Regions from separate parts of the Homo sapiens genome. Here region 1 is linked to region 2. Evidence: promoter capture Hi-C in 16 types of primary human blood cells and fetal thymus (Javierre and others, 2016). All regions are on one chromosome and are shown on one strand. Each heading gives the region's core, a stretch centred on a gene start or on the middle of the fragment in contact. The rest is flanking DNA. Distances are from core to core; before and after follow the strand shown. Region 1 has its middle 9.6 kb from the start of KCNN1. Region 2 holds the start of CIST1 (colon, intestine and stomach enriched 1).

The links. The method cuts DNA at HindIII sites, captures the fragments that hold promoters and counts their contacts. A CHiCAGO score of 5 or more calls a contact.
Region 1: a fragment that was not itself captured here is called in contact with the fragment with the promoter of CIST1 in region 2 in 3 of 17 cell types (naive B cells, neutrophils and total B cells); the score reaches 5.4 in naive B cells.

Annotation. Positions count from the first base shown.
Region 1 is chr19:17,956,017-17,959,007 of GRCh38, reverse strand. It overlaps a transcript of KCNN1 not described here. Among named protein-coding and RNA genes, the nearest start is that of KCNN1, 9.6 kb to the left of the region's middle. The HindIII fragment of the contact is 1,659 bases long and covers 904-2,562 here.
Region 2 is chr19:18,254,076-18,256,904 of GRCh38, reverse strand. It overlaps CIST1 (colon, intestine and stomach enriched 1), which reads left to right and starts at 1,543. Exons shown (of 4, transcript NM_001396036.2): 1 at 1,543-1,685. The coding sequence starts at 1,598. It also overlaps a transcript of PDE4C not described here. The HindIII fragment of the contact is 13,123 bases long and covers 1-2,829 here.

The DNA of each region.
Region 1 (2,991 bases), core at 484-2,983, 300 kb after region 2:
ATAAATAGGGCTGGACGTGGTGGCTCACGCCTGTAATCCCAGCACTTTAGGAGGCCGAGGCGGGTGGATCACGAAGTCAGGATATCGAGACCATCCTGGTTAACACGGTGAAACCCCGTCTCTACTAAAAATACAAAAAAAAATTAGCCAGGCGTGGTGGCGGGCGCCTGTAGTCCCAGCTACTCGGGAGGCTGAGGCAGGAGAGTGGCGTGAACCTGGGAGGCAGAACTTGCAGTGAGCCGAGATCGCGCCACTGCACTCCAGCCTGGGCGACGAGGCAAGACTCCGTCTCATAAATAAATAAATAAATAAATAAATACAATTGAAAATATAAATAAATAAAATAAAAATTAGCCGGGCACGGTGGCAGGCACCTATCTATAGTCCCAAGCTACCCAGGAGGTTAAGGCACGAGAATCACTTGAGCCTGGGAGGTGGAGGTTGCAGTGAGCTGAGATTGCATCACTGCACTGTAGCCTGGATGACAGAGTGAGACCCTGTATCAAAAAAAAAAAAAAAAAAAAAAAGAGACAGGGTCTCCTGTTGTCTCGCAGCAGTTTGGAGTGCAGTGGTGCAGTCAGAGCTCACTGCAGCCTCGATCTCCTGTCCTCAAGTGATCCTCCCACCTCAGCCTCCTGAGTAGCTGGGGCTACGTGTGTGCTACCATGCCTAGCTATTTTTTTTCCTTTTGTAGAGATGGGGTCTTGCCATGTTGCTGAGGCTGTTCTTGAACTCCTGTCCTCAAGTGATCCTCATACCTTGGCCTCCCAAAGTGCTGGGATTACAGGGATCTTTCTTGGTTACAAATCTGATTATACTGCCCCAGATTCTGGGTGCTCAGTGATCCCCTGGCATTTGAGCAGTTAGATCCCACATGACCCCAGCCTTATCTGCTGGCAAGCTTCTACTTGACCTTCCAGGCTCAGCCCAAAGAGCACCTCCTCCAGGATGCCTTCCCAGGTTTCCCCAAGCACAATGAGTGCTCCCTTCTCTCACAGTAGCTACTTGGCATGAGATGGAAACCTGGCCACATTTCATCCTCCATCCCCAACCCAGTCCCAGAATGTGCCCACTTTTTTCCATCTGAGGCTCTACCCTGGTACCAACCCAGCTGAAACCACCAGACATCTCCTGGGCCTCCACTCTGGGCTCCTGCCACCTCCACTCCTGCCCTGCTCTCCACAGCAGCCACAGGGCTTCTGAAAATCCTAACTGAGACCATGCCTCTCCCCTGCTCACACACCTGCCATGGTTCCCCATTGCTCTGAAGTCCACACCCTCACTGCAGCCGCTGAGTTCCTTGTAGCTTGGCTCCTACCTGCCGATCTTGCCTTCATCTTCCTCCTCTCTCCCACTCACTCTGTTCCAGCCACAGCAGCCTCCTCACTGTTCCTCAAACACGCCAAGCTCATTCCCACCTCAGGACCTTTGCACATGTGGTTCCCTCTGCTGGGTATGCTGTTCCCCCAGCTGTCAGCAGGCCAGTTCCTCCTCTTCCTTCAAGTCTCAGCTCATGATCACTGCCCTAGAGAGGCCTCTCTGACTTTTACAAGAGGCTTCCCTGCTCCTCTGGTCACTAATACATCCTCATATTCTATTTTCTTCCTAATACAAAACAATTTTCTTCCTTCCCTCCCTCCCTTCCTCTTTCTTCTTTCTTTTCTTCCTTCCTTCTTTCCTTCCTTCTTTTTTTCTCTCTCCCTCCCTCCTACCCTCCCTCTCTCTCTTCTCCCTTTCCCTTTCCCCTTTCCCTTTCCCTTTCCCCTTCCCCACCATCCCCTCCCCTCCCCTCCCCTCTCCTCTCCTCCCCTCTCCTCCCCTCTCCTCTCCTCCCCTCTCCTCTCCTTTTTTTCTCTCTCTCCCTCCATCCTTTCCTTCCTTCCTTCCTCCCTCCCTCTGTCCCTCCCTCCCTCCCTTTCTCTGTTTTTTGTTTTTTTGTTTTGTTTTGTTTTGTTTTTTGAGACAGTCTCGCTTTGTCGCCAGGCTGGAGTGCAGTGCTGCAATTTCGGCTCACTGCAACCTCCAACTCCCTGGTTCAAGCGATTCTCCTGCCTGCCTCAGCCTCCTGAGTAGCTAGGATTACAGGCACTCCCGACATCACCCCTGGCTAATTTTTTGTATTTAGTAGAGACGGGGTTTCACCATGCAGGATGGTCTCTATCCCCAGACCTCATTATCCGCCCACCTCGGCCTCCCAAAGTGCTGGGATTACAGGCATGAGCCACCACACCTGGCCCCCTTTCTCTCTTTCTCGCTTTCTTTCTGAGACAGAGTCTCACTGTCACCCAGACTACAGTACAGTGGTTCAATCATAGCCCACTGTATCCTCGACCTCTTGGGCTCAAGTGATCCCCCCATCTCAGCCTCCAGAGTAGCTGGGACCACACACATGCACCACCCCACTGGTTAATTTAAAAAAAAAAAAATTGTAGAGATGGGTTCTTGCTACATTGCCCAGGCTGGTCTCAAGCTCCTGAGCTCAAGTGATCCTCCTGTCTTGGCCTCCCAAAGTTCTGGGATCACAGGCATCAGCCACTGTATCCAGCACAAAACACTTAAGCTTAATTGATGCCCCATGAAATTCCACAAGGGCTGACCTGGGCTGGCCTTTGTCCTTATTGCATCCCAGCATCCAGCCTAGGGCCTGGCAGACAGTAGCTAGCTTGCTCAGTGTTTGTTGATTGACTAAATGACCACCACCTCTGTTTTCTCCACACCCCCATGGGCAGCTTAGTGCTGACCCTGGATGTCAGTCAGTGTTCACCAAGGAGGCCTGGCTCAGTGGCTCACGCCTGCAATCCCAGCACTTTGGGAGGCCAAGACAGGTGGATCACCTGAGGTCAGGAGTTCGAGACCAGCCCGGCCAACATGGGGAAACCCCATCTCTACTGAAAACACAAAAATTAGCTGTGCGTGGTGACGCATGCCTGTAATCCCAGCTACTTGGGAGGCTGAAGCAGGAGAATCGCTTGAACCCGGTGGGGTGGAGGG
Region 2 (2,829 bases), core at 294-2,793:
CATATCCACGTACAGGTAGTGGGGTGGTGTCCAGCCCGTCCCAGATGGAAACTGTCCCCAGTGCACTCTAGAAATGTGCCTGGGACCTGGCCCAGAGCACTCACCTCAAGTCCCTCACCCCTAAAAAATCCTACAGGATGGCTGGGTGTGGTGGCTCATGCCTGTAATCCCAGCACTTTGGGAAACCAAGACGAGTGGGTCACCTGAGGTCAGGAGTTAGAGCTATCAGCCTGGCCAACATGGTAAAACCCCATCTATACTAAAAAAAAATACAACAACAAAAAAAGGCCAGGCACGGTGGCTCACGCCTGTAATCCCAGCACTTTGGGAGGCCGAGGTGGGCAGATCACCTGAGGTCAGAAGTTCGAGATCAGCCTGACCAACATGGAGAAACCCCGTCTCTACTAAAAATACAAAATTAGCCGGCCATGGTGGCACATGCCTGTAATCCCAGCTACTCAGGAAGCTGAGGCAGGAGAATCGCTTGGACCCGGGAGGCGGAGGTTGTGGTGAGCCAAGATTGTGCCATTGCATTCCAGCCTGGGCAACAAGAGCTAAACTCAGTCTCAAAAAAAAAAAAAAAAAATTAGCCGGGCATGGTGGTACACGCCTGTAATCGCAGCTACTTGGGAGGCTGAGGCGGGAGGTTGCTTGAATCCCAGAGTTTGAGAATGCAGTGAGCTGTGATTGTGCCACTGTGCTTCAGCCTGGGCGACAGAGTGAGACCCCGTCTCTTAAAAAAAAAAAAAAAAAGGGCTGGGCACGGTGGCTCATGCCTGTAATCCTAGCAGTTTGGGAGGCCGAGGCGGGTGGATCACTTGAGGTCAGGAGTTCGAGACCAGCCTGGCCAACATGGTGAAACCCTGTCTCTGCTAAAAAATACAAAAATTAGCCAGGCCTGGTAGCGGGCGCCAGCTACTCGGGAGGCTGAGGCAGGAGAATTACTTGAACCCGGGAGGCAGAGGTTGCAGTGAGCCAAGATTGCATCACTGCGCTCCAGTCTGGGTGACAGAGCAAGACTCCGTCTCAAAAAAAAAAAAGAATAAAAGAAAGAAAAAGAAATCCATAATAGAAATGCTAGAAGGTTAGAAGGTTTCAGTCATGTCCCCAAAAGGCCCCAGTCTGGGTGAGACAGAGGACAGAGGAGGACGAGGACAGAGAACAAGGACATCCCCAGCCCTGTGGGTTCAGGGATCGGAGGGAGGTGGGAGAAATTGGTGCTCCCAGAGGGGACAACCTGGCTGGACGAGGGGCAGAGGGAGTGACAGCAGGGGTTTGGGCAGCTGTGGAACCAGGAGCAGGGGGAAAGAGGACGGCAGGGGCAGGGTGTCTTTAGTGGATGACTGGCTTTGAGAGCTTCTGGGTCGTCGTGTTTAGAAGGGGTGGAGTCCAGGTGAAGAGGGCGAGAACCGCACCCGGGGGAACAGGAGCGCCCCAGGGAGGTCCCACACCCTGCAGCCCCACCTGCGCCTTGCCCCTGCACAGCCCCGCGCTCCGCCAGCAGGGAGCGCACACGCAGGTGCAAGGAGCTGGCACCTGGGCACACACCTGGCCACACACCTGTGCAGAGCCGGTGGCAGGCCCTCCCGGCGCAGGAATGGCGTGCCCCCAGCTGCCGCCACTTCTGCTTTTGGTGCTGGTGGTGCTGCTGAAAGCTGGTGTGAATTACAATACTCCCTTTACAGGTAAGAGCTGGTAAAGAGGCTCAGCTTCCAGAAAGCGGAAGGGTGGGGGTGGGGGACGCACAGCCCAGTCACACACCTGGCTTCTGGACCCCTCCCTCAGGCCACGCTGGTCCGCCAACCCTCCGAGGAAGGCTGGGTTTTCCCCCAGAAACAAACGGAGCAGCTGTGAGGACAGATGAGGCACCGCTGCTCCCAAGCCCTGGGGCTGTGGGTCCTGCAACTCCAGTGAGCCCTGAACCTGCTGGAGGCCACAGATGGCCTCACACCTACTTTTGGGCTCCTTTTCAAATCTGTTGCTTTTAGCCAATCCCCAAAGGGAGAATGGTGAAGACCTCAGGGCCATGGGGGTTCCAGGGAACAGGGACTCACTTCCTGGTCATCAAACATCTGTGGTTCCCATGAGAAGTTCTTCTGGGTGTCTGACTTAATTCCCTCTTGCTCTCCTATAAGACAGTGCCTAGGGTGGAGGGGAGGAGCCTTGAGCTTCTCGCATTCCCTTTTTCTGCCCTTTACCTGCCACTATGTTGTCACTCTCTCTGACCGGTGTCCTACCCCACAGACCTGTAATAGCAGAGCAGAGGCCACCATGGCTGCTGAAATGCTCATTGCAGGGAAGGGTTTCATTCAGAAGGCACCACTTTTATCCCCATTTCATAGCTCAGGAAACTGAGGCTCAGTCCAGCTTGTCCCAGACCCAGATTAGAACTGGTTGACTTGGCTCATGTGAGCCTCCCAGTCTAGGAGTCTCTGGGGAGAGCAAACACCCAGCACAGTGCCTAGAAACATCTTTATTTTTACCTTCTGGTCAACCCTTCAGCAGCTCACCAGTGCCTACTCAGTGCCAGGCACTCAACAGGGCTTGTGTCCTCCAACTCTTCCTTTTTCAAGTCCACAGCTTTTCCTCAGTTCACTAAGCACTCAGCTCCCCAGAATTCTGACTTGGCTTGGGGTCCACTCTGGCCTCTGAATCATCTTCATTTCAGCAGAAACAGAGGACAAGGGTCCTTGAGGGGCGTTCTTCCCAGCTCCCCAGTCACCTCAGGCCAGACCCTCTGCTACTCTGAGCCTCAGTTTCTCATCTGTCAAATGGGGATGAAGCCCAGCCTGAGTTCCATGCCTCTTCTAGACTCAGCCGTCATCCCCA